Regions from separate parts of the Homo sapiens genome. Here all the other regions are linked to region 1. Evidence: promoter capture Hi-C in 16 types of primary human blood cells and fetal thymus (Javierre and others, 2016). All regions are on one chromosome and are shown on one strand. The core of a region is centred on a gene start or on the middle of the fragment in contact, and the rest is flanking DNA. Distances in the headings are between cores, read along the strand shown.

Region 1 (4,625 bases), core at 552-3,051:
CCTATGAGTTTCAGTTTTCACATAGCTCGATATGCCTGTGGATGGATTTAGATGATGAGGTTCTGGAGCAACCTTCTGGATATTTCAAAGTGGGAATAAACAGGCACCTTATTGCCCTGTTCATGGGCCAGTGCTGGCAGTCCTGGGAAGTGAGGGCTGGACCTCTGATCTCCCTTCAAGGCCTCAGTTTCTCTGGTTTCTCCAGGGTTCCTCAATGTGGCTTCTACTGGCAACCCCGTGAGCATCTTCTCAGAGTCAGGCACTGTGCCACGCTTGAGGAATACCATGTCAAGGAAGGTCTGGTCTGGCCTGTGCCACTTACCCTCTCTGGGCCTCAGTTTCCTCTTCTGTAAAGGGGGGTGAGTGAGTGGGAGGGAAGGGGGATGAGAGGGGAGAGGGAGGATGTTGGAGGGTAGAGGGTGGTAAATGGGCTCTGGGGTCACCTCCCACTGACAGCCACTCTGACAGCCTTGGCTTTGCAAACCTGGCCATCTCTTCTCCCCATTCTGGTCTCATCCTTCCTGCCCCTGCCCACTTCCCATCTTTACAGTTCAGGAAGAGACAGAGCACCTGGGAAGGGTGCCTCCTCCATTCTCCCACCTCCAGGGCAAGCCCCACTCTTCCTAGAACAGAGCAATGTTCATCTCTTCCCACTGTCACTGAACATAGAGACTCCTTCACCTAAATGCCAGGTCTAAACTAAGCCTCTTAGGAAGCAGTTCAAATAATAATTCAAAACCTAAAACAAAATAATCCTTATCTCCCATTTTGTGTTAGTTTCCTGTGCCAAACACTTTATGTACATTACCTATCATCACAATAACCCTTTGGGTGATGTGATCAACCTCAATTCAATTTGCAGAGGAGAAAACTGAAGTTGAAGGAGGTTAAACAACTGGGCTAGGATCACCCAACCCAGAAATGACGTCACATGGACGGCCCCCTCTCCTAATCCATTTTTCTTTTGGTTTTGCCCTCTGAGGGGGTGAAAAACAGGTCTCCAGTGACCTTCTGGATCCTGGAAGCGCCCTTCAGCTCAAACCCTTCGCATTCAGGAACTCCTGGCTTCCGCCAACCCCTACTTCAGCAGGGTTTGCAGCGAGGACTATGGCTCAGAGCAAATAACTGAATTCTAAATGCGTGGTCACAGTCACCTCGCCAATCCCAGGGACCCTGCACCCAACTCTCCAGGAAAGGCTGGCAGGTGCGGGGTGGAATGCGCTCTGTGCGAGGGTGGGTGGGAATTTCGATGCGCAGAGGTGCAGTTAGCTCACTCCTGCGGGGGCCTCGGGCGGAGCCAGGGCCAGGGGCGGGGCGAGGCCGGGGTCCAGGGCGGAGCCAGGATTGGAGGCTGACGTTAGCCCTGCGGGGACGGGGAAGGGGTGCGGCTTGGGACTGGGGCGGGGCCGGGGCCCGGGGAGGAGCCAGGATTGGAGTCCGACTGTAGTCCTGGTGGGGCGGGGCGGGGGAGGGGCCGGAACTGGGGCTGGGCCGAGGCCCGGGGCGGATCCAGGGCTGGAGTCTTGGCGGGGCGGGGCGGGGAGGGGCGGGGCCGGGGCGGGGCTGGGACTCGATGCGACTCAAAGGTGAGTTTCGAGGGGCGGGGCGGGGCCGGGGCCAGGTGCGGAGCAAAGGCCGGAGTCTGGCGGGGGTGGGGCAGGCAGGGCCAAGGCTGGGTCCGGGGCGGGGCGGGCCTAGACGGGGCGGTGGAAGGGGCGGTGCCGGGGCGGGCCGGGGCGAGAATGGTTTCAGAACTGCCGAGGGCTGGAGGGAAAGCAGCGGGAGGGGCGGAGGGAGGGGATTCGGCAGCTCCAGTTCAGCTCGCTCGGCGCACCCACGCCTCGCTGCCCCGCTTCCTGCCCTCAACCTGGGCATGCGCCCCCCACCCTTCCGGCCCCCCAGAACCCGCGCCATCCCCCGGAGCCTCCCCAGAGCTGGCCGCGCAGGATGGGCGCCCTCAGGCCCACGCTGCTGCCGCCTTCGCTGCCGCTGCTGCTGCTGCTAATGCTAGGTAAGCCAGGCCCCCGTTCCGGTTCCCGGCCCTGCCGGGCAGGTGCCTGCCATCCAGCACCCCCCTAGCATTTCGGGGCTCCTCACATCCTCCTCCGTCAGGGGTACCTCCAGCCTCCCCGGGGTCGGCGTCCAGCTGCGCTTTGTGGCTGTCCGCCGAGCCAGTCTTGGGAAGAGTGCAGGCTCCCCAGCTCTAAGCCAGGGACTGGGGCGTAGAGAGGACCCACTAAGGTGCTGCCCCAGGCACTGCTCGGCCTCCCGGGGCAGGCCACACATCTCAGCTAGCATACCCACGTACTGGGGTCGCTGCACCAAATGCTGCGACTCCTTTCTGCCCCACACTCAGCTCCAGGCCTGGCCTTGGGTGCCCGCCCTACGAGGGCAGTGCCTGCCCAGCTTCATAATTGCCCCAGAGTTGGCTGGAGGCCCAGAGGCCAGTTCTGCCCACGATCTTTGAAGTAAGTCTCTCCCAGTTGCGCTCCACGCACTTCATCAACTGGGGGCAGTTCCCTCTCTCACCCCCATCTCCACCCTGGGTTGGGTCCCTCTTTGCCCTTCTTCCTGTCTCCCAAATGGCACTTGGCTCTGCAGCCACCCATCAGTTTTCACACCGCTTAGTTCCAGCTTCCTTGCCTCAGGAGAAACCAGGTTCCATGGAGACTGATCCTGGGATCTCCAAGCACCTTGTGCCTGCTGTGGTGGGTGTTCATGGTGGGGTGTTCTGGGCCAATCTTGCATGGATGCATGGGGATAATGACAGTGGAATTGTTTTTGGCCTGAACTGGAGGGCTCCCTGTAGGAGGTGGTCTGGGGAAGAGTATGGCATGGAGACAGTGAAACTGCCAGTACAGATGTTGATGAGGCTGAAGCCCTTGAAATGAGAGTGAAGCGTGGGGGTGGGGATGGTGACTTCAGAGCTGCTGTCGTCAAGGCAGAGGCTGAAGGTAGCCCCAGCTGCCTGTTTCTAGACCAGAGCTCCACAGTGGCACCAAGCAAAGCCTTCCCCTGCTGCAGGTCCCTGGGCCCTGCAGGGTTAGGATGAGTCCTCTCCCTGGTCCCTGGGCAGGTGGCAGGAGGATGTACAGAGAGGAAGGCGCTGTGGGGCCTGGGTTGCCTAGCACTTGGTGTGTTTTCCCCAGTGGGCAGCATGGAGCAGGGAGGAGCCCAGGGAGGTGGGGAAGTGCTGGCCTGTGTTTGAAAAAGGAGCACGCAGAGGTCTGAGCACCCACTGCCTGTGGGCACTTACATTCATTTCACAAATGAGGAAAATGAAGTAACTTGCCCCAGAGAGCACATTTAGTGAGTGTTGGGGCTAGGATTTGAACACAGATCTGATTCCAAAGCAGGCCTCTTTGCTGTCCCTTTCCTTGCTGCGACTGATACAGAGGAGGGGAGAGAGAGCTGTGTGGCAACTGATTTCCTAAGGCTGTGGAGGTGACTTTCCCATGGGCATCTCCAAGCATCAGCAGTTGTGGAGCCAGGAAAATGGGAGGGGGCCTTCTGAGCAGTCTGCCCTGAGGCAGTCAGGGAAGGTGTCAGCTTGGCTGTCTCCACCGTCACTCTGATTATGAAACTTGCCTGGCCTGGGGCAGGGCTCTCCTGAGTCACATACGCACTCACACATGGTCAGAGCTGGAGCTCTTAGTTCTCCTCCAGTGTGGAAACTGAGGCCTAGGACAGAAAGAGACTGGATCCCAGGCCACACAGCTGGGCATGGGGATGGTGCTGGAATCCCACTTCCTGACTGGCAGCTGTGCCCTTAACAACAGACCATGAGTTCTCCCTGTGACCCAGCCAGAGGATGAAGGAAGGGGCTAGGAGCCCAGAAGCAGGGGTGGGGAAGTTCAGAGGAGCCGTTCTAGAGAAGCTGGAGGGTAGAGTTTGACCACAGACTCCTGGGCATTTTCCTCTAGCTCCTGCAGAAAGTCCATGGTATCCCCCTGGGAGGCCTAAAAGTGACACTCTGGTTGGTGAGGTCAGTCCCTTCAGGCCTGGCCTTGGAGTTTCCCCATCTTCCTCTCTGGTTTTGCCCCTCTGGAGGAGTGTGTGGAAGCCATCTAGGGACAGCATGATCTTGGCTAACATATTATACTTTTCCTGCCTTACCTTTCTCATCTGTAAAATTGGGAGAGGTGGGGAGGGGTGGCCTAGCCCTCTTTACATTGAGGTTCTGTGATCTTATCTAGTGGGAGCTATGGAAGGAAAGAAGGGAGGAGCTAAGCCCTCTAAGTCTGCCAGGAGTATCTGCTGGGGTAGGGTTGGGCATAGGGGTGGAGTAGGGTGAAGAAGAGAGGTTTGGCCTTTCTGAAGGGAGAGAGATGAGAAGGGGCAGCTGGGGATTTAGTGCCTCCCTACAGAAAGAGAGCCATATATGTAAATGAATGCATACCATGTGCAAATGAAGGCTTTTGTTAAGGAACTGGGGCAGGCACCTTCTGTATCTGCTGGGCTAGCCCGGAAGGTTGGCAGGCACTGGAGGAGGGGATCTTCTGCCCCCAATGGCCAGGGCAGAGCCTGGATCTTGCCCCAGAAGCCCCAGCTGCCTGGGCAGCCCTGTGGGGTGAGAGAAGCAGTGAGCTCATGGCGCAGCTGGAGAGGGGAGGGCATTGTGTGGT
Region 2 (4,625 bases), core at 875-3,374, 950 kb before region 1:
CTCCTGGAGAAAGGGCTTGGGGGTCCCGAGCTTCTCGATCCTCTTGGAGGAATGGGGGTAGTCTTTCCTTTGATGCTGCTGTGGCCCTAGCCCGGGACCGCCAAAGGACTGAGGCTCAAGGAGTTCGGCGAACCCAGACCTGTACTGAGGGTGGGGATTACTGCCTCATCCCCAGAACCTCCCCTTGTAGCATGATCTCTGCCCATTCTCCTCGGCCCCTTAGCTGCCTGGAGCTCCCATCTGAAGGTGCAGAAGGGTCTGGATCCCGGAGTCGTCTTAGTCTGCCCCCCAGAGAACCCCAGGTTCCTGACCCCCTGTTGTCCTCTCAGCGCAGGTCATATGCATTTGAAACACAGGCTAACCCTGGGAAAGGTGAAGGACTGTGATTAGGACCACAGCCCTGGGCAAAGGGGACCAGCAAGTTGTCTTGAATCTCCAGGGTTCCTGACTAGCTGTCTCCTCTGCAGCATGAGCAGCTGTAGTGCCCAACTCTATAGGCTTTGGCCCTCCAGCTTCTCTCTTTGACTGTGGGAGGCACTGCCTTGGTTGGTTTACCTGAACTTGTCTCCGACACAAAGCACTTATCTCTTAGGAGATTCCCAAGAAAGTCAACAAGATCTTGTTCCCAGGGAGTGGGTCATTGGCCAAAGGGAACATAAGGTAGGCAGAAAACTTAAAAGAGTTTGTTAAAGTGAAGACTGGAGAAATTCCTCCCTTCCTCTGAGCTGTGAATCTCTCTTCATGAAAGCCAAAGGTAGAGACAGGGAGGACAGGGCCAGGTTAGGGCCTTCCACACACAAACACTTCTAGAGTTGCCCATTCCTGTTATGTTCTTGGACCCTAAGATACCTCCTGTCCCTTTTAAATCCAGATTAAGAGAAACGTCCAGGAAGAGCTCTTTGAAGCCCTCAATATTTGTTGGAGGGACTGGACTCCTCTCCAGCTCCCCACCCTCTGCCTCCAGTCACCATGTGCAAGAGAGGTCCTGTACAGATCTCTCTGGGCTCTCCTTTCTCCTTTGGAATAACTTGTTCCTATTTCAGGAAAGGGAAATGGTGTCACTCAGGCCCTGGGACTGCTTCTCCAGCCAGGCTGGGGCCACAGGTCCCACTCTAGTGAAGGTCAATGTCTCAGAATAAAAGCTGTATTTTTACACATAGTGTGGAGTCTCATTATTCTTATTAAAGTCTTTGGTGATAGGTATTATATCTTCACATATTTGGCAAAACATTCTTTTTCTTCTTCTTGTTTGGGTGCTCTTCCTCAGTTGTTGTCATGGAGACTAGTGGCCAGAAACTAGAGCTAGGTTCATGGTGGTCAGGAAATAAGGAAGAGAAACTTATATTTACATAATGCGTTCATTATGTGCCAGGAACTGGACTAAGTATCCTGTGCTCACAAAATCTATGTCCTTGATTTTATTTAATCCACACAATTCTGGAAGGTTGGTGCTAGTATCTCCAGTTTATAGATGAGGAAACTAAGGCTCAATTAAGTCAAAATGTTTGCCAAAGGTCTCAGAGGTAAGAAGTGGCAGAGATGGGTTTGAAACCTGGATCTGCCTGGCCCCCAAGCTTGAATTTTTCCCATTATACCACACTACTCCAAATCCATTCAGGGTAGGTCTTGATTGAGAAGAATGGGAATCAAGATTCCTGTCACAGAAGGTGTGAGCCTTTAGAACACTAGAAGCTTTGGGGTCTTTGGATGAGTGACTGCTGACGCGAATAACAAGGAACATATCCAATTCTATGCATGCCCCGATAGGTCGTAATCTCTAGCAGGTAACCTTTCAAAAAGACGCCCTGCGCCAAGATGGCCTCCCAAATAGCCCTTGTTAAAGATGGCGCCTCCGTCGGACGTCCCTCCCTTGATCTCAGCTGGATTCTCTTCTTTCCTGGAATGAAAAAATGCCCTGCCAAGCACTAAGATATTAGTACAAGTTAGTCGTCTCTTTCCCGTTCTTGTCGAAAGTGGCCAGGCCTTCAGCTACATTCTCCAGGACACGGCTTCTTTCCGGCTTCACAAATAACCCACAAACACCAACTCTCATCAAGATGGAGTGAGCGGAAGTGGGGCAGTTCTGAGTTTGAGTTTATGGGCGGGGCGAGAGCGACACTTCCGCCCCTCACCAACATGGCCGCGGGCTGGAAGTGCGCATGAGCAGCTGTCTATGGAGATACCTAGGCCGGGAGAGGGAGAACACAGTTGGAGAAAATCGGCAGCTGAGACGGCCTTGGCCGGTGAGTGTAGGACCGGGCAGAAGTCTGGAAACTGGGTGGACTGGCAAGGCAGGGCAGCTTTGATTTTGTTTCCGTTTTTCAAGTTAGAGAACACTGCTGGGGAGGAAGCCTTTGTTTTGGGGGAGGGGGCTGTGCTGGTTCTTTATCTCATACCCTGCTTTGTGGGCCAAACTCTCTCCCTTCCCCAGAGCGCGAGCGTCCCAGCCCTCCTGCGCTGTCCAGCTGCGCGCCGCAGCCGCCGGCACCGGGCGCTTGAGCTCCCTAGTCCCCGAGGCCCTTTCCTGCCTCCTCCGCGGAGCAGCTGGGGCGCGGGGCTAAGACTGCGGGGCTGCGGGGTCACGGCGCAGGCTCCCGGGCTCGCGCCTGGCGGGCGCTCAGCTCCGTAAGCGCCTTCTGGTTGGTGAGCCTGCAGGGAGACGCCTCATTCTAAGGCAAGGTCTAGGTGCCTGACTTCTTTCGGGAGTTGATTTTTTTTCCCTTTGTGTCCAGACTTAGCAAGGGCTCTTACTGGGCCCTTCTGGCCTGAGCGTGCACACCACAACGTCCCATCCCTGTTTCCGTGTCACCGATCCCTAATGCCTAGGAAATGCTTCCGGATGTCCAACTAAGATTTGAATAAGTACCCTGACCCCGTTGCTGGGTGTCCTCAGAGACTGCCCCGGCTGACAGCTGTGGCCAATAGAGATGCCTCCTGTGCCGGGCCCTCTATTTCATTGCCTTCCCCTGCAGTCAGCGCGGCAAGCTTCGCAGGGCATTTCCTCTTCAGGTTTGAAGATGGAAATGTAGGTGGTCCCAAAACACTAGTGCTACTTCCCCTTATCGACTGGGATCTCCTTGCAGCGTTACTTCGTCTGTACGGTTTCACTTTCAGTTCCTTTTTCAACATTTTCCTCGGACGCGGTCTTTCCGAGGCTTATCCATTGAAAATTTTCCTTGGATAGGAAAGGTTTGGAGGACCTTATGGGTAGAGAATTTCCAAAAATCTTGCCCCTTTTGTGTTGGGATTATCTTATTGCTTTGTACTGTGTAGCTGTTTCTTTCTGGAGGCATGTCTGCCCAGCTCTTTGTTTTTCCTGCCCTCTGGCTGGGTGTCAGGGTCCTAAGGCAGAGCTTGTAGGTGGATTCTTCCCCCTTTGTCTCTTCTTCAGAACCCTGTTTTTTTTTTTTTTACCCCTTCTTGCTCAGGCTTAGTTGATTTGGAGTTGTCATAGCAACATTTTAGCAACAGTGTTGTTCTGCAGGAAGGCTTGATGAATAAAATAGAGAATGCTTGAAGAGGATCCACTTGGGCTTTAGGGTTTCTAACAGATTATATAAATCTGGATACCCCAAAACAAGAGTCCTGTCAGTAGAATGGGGCCCAAATGCCAAGTCTAGTCTTTGTGGTCAGGGATATTCTTCCAGTGGTAGTGGGCTTCAGATTTCCTCTTCCTAGGTTTGAAAACAGAAATGTCTTGATGGACAACATGTGGCTGAGAAACTGGAAGAAGCATCAGTGTCCATGACACTGTATTTTTTGATGGTGGGGCCAATACATGGCCCTTCCTGATTCCCATGAAGCTGCCATCATGGCAGGTCATAATAGCTTTAATGATCCATTTAGAGATGTGTTGTTGGCTGGGTGCGGTGGCTCATGCCTGTAATCCAAGCACTTTGGGAGGCCGAGGCAGGCGGATCACCTGAGGTCAGGAGTTCCAGACCAGCCTGGCCAATATGGTAAAACCCCATCTCTACTGAAAATACAAAAATTAGCTGGGCGTGGTGGTGGGCACCTATAATCCCAGCTATTCAGGAGGCTGAGGCAGGAGAATCACTTGAACCCAGGAGATGGAGGTTGTAAGCCGAGATTGTGCCACTGCACTCCAGCCTGGGTGACAGAGCAAGATTCTGTCTCAGAAAAAAAAAAAAAAAAAAGAAAGAAATGTGTTGTTTCGGCCAGGTGCAGTGGCTCACACCTGTAATCCCAGCACTTTGGGAGGCTGCCGAGGTGGACAGATCATGCTCTCAGGAGTTCGAGACCAGCCGGGCCAACATGGTGAAACCCCGTCTCTACTAAAAATACAAAAATTAGCCAGGCGTGGTGGTGTGCACCTGTAATCCCAGCTACTCCGGAGGCTGAGGCAGGAGAATCACTTGAACCTGGGAGGCAGAGGTTGCAGTGAGCTGAGATCGCGCCACTGCACTCCAGCCTGGGTGACAGAGAGAGACTCTGTCTCAAAAAAAAAAAAAAAAAAAAAGTGTTGTTTCTGTCTTCCAGTATAATTATCCACTCTCCACCAGGAGTTGGAGTGATAATGGAGGGATGGGGAACACTATTTGTAGCCTTGCTTTTTCAATCACTGTAGGCCAGTCCTCAACATCAGTATGGTGGAGGCTGATTGT
Region 3 (4,625 bases), core at 1,233-3,732, 520 kb before region 1:
TATTCAGATAATTTCAGTTTAGTGTGACTAGCACTGCCATCAGGGTAAACACAGGATGCTGAAGAAGTGAACAAGAGGTTTAAGAGTATTCACTGGGAACAGAATTCAGAAAATTATTGGATCTCATCCAAAAAGTCACCAGGGTTAGAATGAAACCAATAAGGCACAATTATTCCCCTGCAGTTGAAGTGCCTAGAGGTACCATCCCCTGTCCTCTCTTCCAAATTTCCCTATGATACAATATCTCAGGGCATTGTGCTCCCCTCAGCCACCTTGACTACTACCAACCAATACTGGAGTCAAAATGTCCTGACCCAAGACCAGGAGAGATGCCCCGGCTGCCTTCCCATGGTAAGGATAGAACTTGATCCTCATAACACTGAGCTGATGACTGATTTCATTCTCAAGTAGATCAGTGTCATCTACACACAACCTTCTTAGAAAAGCCCTTACCTCAGCACTCTGATGTTGGTTTTGCATATATAAAAAAATCTAGATCATAGCACAGCGACCTACTTGTGTCTCATTTCCTCCATCTAAGAGTTAGCCAGGTAGGAGGGATGGGTGATTCAGATAGAAATTAGGTTGACAGCCTATGGGGCTCGGGGTAGGGCAATCACATTTAGCTCATACTATAAGGAAATAGTGAGATGACCCAGGATGAGAAAACTGAACTTAACTTATCCACATTAACCTACCTAGTAAAATTGCTGGGATCCTACGCCATACTCTTTCCTCAACCACACTTGGCTTATCACATGGTTGTGCTCTAAGGGAATAGTGCTCCCCATCCCACAATTCCCCACTACCTTCCCCAACACACATACCCATCCTCACCTCAACCCCATTCACCATTTGTCCCTTGTAAGTTAGCAACACACAAAACTGCCTCAAACTTGCGGTAAAATTTATATTTAGTTGCTGCACCTTTCATAAAACCTTGCTAAAGAAATTATATTGGCAGCTTCTAATGCTATAATCATCAGAATGCAGCCTGACGCTGAAGGCTTTTCAATTTCATGACTCTTTGGCAATTTCATGTCCAGGAGAATACACTGATAAAGAATGTGGGTATAGGCATTAGACAAACTTACATTCAGATGCAGATTTTGCTACTGACAAGCTGTGTGATCAAATGACTTAACTTCTCGTCTGCAAAACAGGGGTAATACTATGTACTTCATGGTATTGTGGTGGAGATTGGTATCAATACACAGAAAACACTGAACACAGTGGTTCCCATCGATGGGTGATAGATAGATAGATACATAGACAGATAGATACATAGACAGATAGACAGATCTCTTAGTGTAGATGAATTAAAATGGCAATGTGTAAGTGCTATGGCCAGGAGAAGCTGCACTGGAAGCATCTGGAAACAATACCTAGAACAGATTGAAAATATTTTAAGTCATGGTAACATAAGACTTTATGCTTCAGGTAAAAGCTGAAAAGGATATTAGATACTCTATGCCCTCATTTTACAGTTATGGTAAGAGAAAAGACCCATTGAGATGACGTGATTTGTCCAATGCCACACAGCTAATGATGGCTACAATGTAGATGTCCTAATTTTAAGGCCAAGACTTTTTCCTTAGAGCCTAAGACCTTGCTGACTTGGAGCCGAGTTAAGCTTACTCCTAAAAACCTGTTCTTGCACTGGGGAAAATAACCTGAGACTAAATTATCTTGGTCCAATGGTCCTTTTAAGCAGCAACAATCAACCTCACCTCTTCCATCTGTCTGACCATTTAGGACTGTCCTTCCAGTTCTACATTTGACTCTGAGCTGACCTGCAAGACTGAAAGTCTTTGAGGACTGTAGTCTGTTCTCTACTCTATTTGTAGCCACTACAGCACCTAGGAGAGTGCTGGGCAGGCATGTCTTACTTTGCAAACACTCGTGGGGACTAACTTGAACCTCCTCTGCTACCTCCAACTGCTTCTTGAGTCCTCCCCTCCATTTTACACACACACACACACACACACACACACACACGCACTCACGCACACTCCTCAGTCAGGATCAACTCTGACCAAAAAAGCGAAGTTGAAACCACTAGGCACACCGTGCTCATACCCACACACAAAAAATCCCATGTTGACTTTCCTTGAATTCCTGGAACTTCATCAGTGTCTGCCCCACATTTCCTCCCCAAGACTCACACCCTCACGCAGCACATTCCACCATGCTCACCACATACACACTGGGCCTTTCCCTTCCAAAGAAAAATGTGCCTCTCCTAAAAATGCTATTTCCTCAGAGATGTGCCTTTTTTTTTTTTTTTTTTTTTTTGAGATAGATTCTTGCTCTGTCACTCAGGCTGGAGTGCAATGGCATGATCTCGGCTCACTGCAACCTCTGTCTCCTGGGCTCAAGCAGTTCTTCTGTCTCAGCCTCCTGAGTAGCTGAAATTATAAGCGCGTGCCACCATGCCTGGCTAATTTTTGTATTTTTAGTAGAGACAGGGTTTCCCCATGTTGGCCAGGCTGGTCTCAAACTCCTGACCTCGTGATCTGCCCACCTCAGCCTCCCATAGTGCTGTGATTATAGGCGTGAGCCACTGCACCCAGCCCAGTTTTTTAAGAGAATAAATTAACTGGTGTTAAAATAAGTCTACCTTAAAGGCTGTGATTTTCTGGGTCCAGCCTCCATTGCCTCTGCCTGGACTTTGCAATAATCCCATAATAAACCTCCATCCTTCAGTCTGCCACTTTCCCACCATCCTTACTGCTGCATGATGTATACAAAGGATACTGTGCAACTTTAGAAAGAATGAGATAGGTCTACTGTGCTAACATGAAAAATGTCCTCAATACATTTTAAGTGAAAAGATCAAGTTACAGAGAAGTGTGTGCAGAATGACACCTCTTGTGTGGAAAAAAGTCTATATAAGTATAGCAAATATCCAAAACTGCATTGTCTAATATGGTAGTCACTAGCCACATGTGGCTTTTTAAATTTAAATTAATTTGAATTAAATAAAATTTAAAATTCAGTGACATTAGTCACAGTTCAGGTGCTCCATAGCCCCGTGTCTGTAAGCTGTATTAGACACTGCAGATATGGAACATTTCCATCATCTCAGAAAGTTCTGTTGCACAGAGCTGATCTACAGGGATATACATCAAACTTTTAAAAATGGTTTCTTCTTTTTTTTCCCACTTCTTTTCACAGGTATTGAAAAATACGGTTTCTTTTGGGAATGAAATTGGGTTGGTTAATGGAAGAAGGGGATTTATACTTTTTACTTTATACTTTATATATTTCTTCACAATTTTTATTTTATGATGAGAATAAATTACTCCTATAATTTAAAAAGAAAGCTTTTTAAAATTGGCTAAAAATTAAAATATTCTGCAACTTATTAATTTCCAGAGACCCTAGGCCCTGAGCAAAATTTCCAGATGGTGGGCAACAGAATGACATTGTTGCTTTATTTTCTAAATAGTCCCAGGTGGAACATCCCTCTTACACGTCCCCCCGCCCTTACCTCCCACACATCAATTCCCCCAGAAATAGGGAGGTGAGAAAGCTGTGAGTGAAGCAACATACTACCAGCTGGAAAATACAAAAGAGGTATAAACAACTAGCCCTGCCCTCAAAGAACTTAGAATCCTATTAGGAGACCAGATATGCACATTGAGCAACAGAGATTAAAGTAATTGAATGGTACACCAATGAGAAAAACACCTAATGCGTATTGGGCATTTGTTATGCACCAGGCAGTGTTCTAAACACTTTACAAGTGGTATCTCATTTAATTATCACAACAGCCCCGTGAGGCAGGTATTTCAAATCCCATTTCACAGATAGGCCTAGAGTGATCAAGTAACTAACCTAAGACAATATGACAAATGTGCAGGGGGGCTGGGACTCAGGGCTTTGTTTCCATTGTGCCCTTGGGGAAAGTGGGTATGCAAAGGACAGTAAAGACCAGGTCTGAGTAAGGAGCTCCTGCTGGGGACCAGAGGGAGATAACCATTATGGTTTCTTTTCACCAGGTAAAACGAACCATTACCAGACAACAGTGGAAAAAAAAAGCCTTACGATCTATGCCCAAGTCCAGAAACCAGGTGTAAGTTCTATATTTTGTTTGAGATGAACCTGTCATGTTTCCTAGAGTATTCCTGGCCAGTCTACCTTGCCTGTTGGACATTCACAGTTTTCCATCCAGAGCAGAGGAAGGTAGGGAACAGGAGTCAAGAACAAGAGTTCTCCTAAAGTCACTAAACGTCAGTGTTTGAAATAATGGGCAACACTGGATAATTTTCTGGTCATGAGTCTTCACAGGAAAAAAATGAAGAAGCTGGAAATACATACTGTATGACTCTTTCCAGCTCTGGCATTGTAGGAGTCTAGGTTCCATGTTAGTCAATTATTTCCTTTTCTAGGGAAAAGAGTGCAGGCTTGAGGAGAGAGGAGGTTTGGAAAAGCTATTGTGTGACATGTTGGACTGATCCAAGTTTAGGATTTACTAAGTGCAAAAGTGACAAGGAAGGTAGGATCTTCAAAATTCTAGCTAGAGTGTGGTTAAAGAGATGAAAGATGAGATGGAAGAAAGAAAACTGTGACAGAGTGATCACTGGACTAAGAAGTGAAGGATGGAAAAACTGGATGCATGG

The links. Contacts are between HindIII fragments. The CHiCAGO score rates a contact against its expected background, and 5 or more counts as called.
Region 2: the fragment with the promoter of USF1 here is called in contact with the fragment with the promoter of IGSF8 in region 1 in 2 of 17 cell types (fetal thymus and naive CD4 T cells); the score reaches 7.2 in fetal thymus.
Region 3: a contact is called between a fragment that was not itself captured here and the fragment with the promoter of IGSF8 in region 1, in 1 of 17 cell types (M1 macrophages). The highest score is 6.2, in M1 macrophages.

The regions. Positions count from the first base shown.
Region 1 is chr1:160,095,795-160,100,419 of GRCh38, reverse strand. IGSF8 (immunoglobulin superfamily member 8) reads left to right here and starts at 1,801. Exons shown (of 7, transcript NM_052868.6): 1 at 1,801-2,011. The coding sequence starts at 1,948. RefSeq lists a silencer at 1,217-2,046 and enhancers at 2,613-3,139, 3,140-3,668, 3,669-4,195. The HindIII fragment of the contact is 5,064 bases long and covers 1-4,625 here.
Region 2 is chr1:161,043,476-161,048,100 of GRCh38, reverse strand. It overlaps USF1 (upstream transcription factor 1), which reads left to right and starts at 2,124. Exons shown (of 11, transcript NM_007122.5): 1 at 2,124-2,243. It overlaps ARHGAP30 (Rho GTPase activating protein 30), which reads left to right. Exons shown (of 12, transcript NM_001025598.2): 12 at 1-1,155. The coding sequence ends at 386. RefSeq lists enhancers at 1,274-2,154, 1,765-2,244, 1,357-2,556, 2,155-3,035, 3,095-3,324. The HindIII fragment of the contact is 1,293 bases long and covers 1,695-2,987 here.
Region 3 is chr1:160,619,229-160,623,853 of GRCh38, reverse strand. SLAMF1 (signaling lymphocytic activation molecule family member 1) reads left to right here. Exons shown (of 7, transcript NM_003037.5): 5 at 4,005-4,078. Among named protein-coding and RNA genes, the nearest start is that of SLAMF1, 26 kb to the left of the region's middle. The HindIII fragment of the contact is 1,693 bases long and covers 1,636-3,328 here.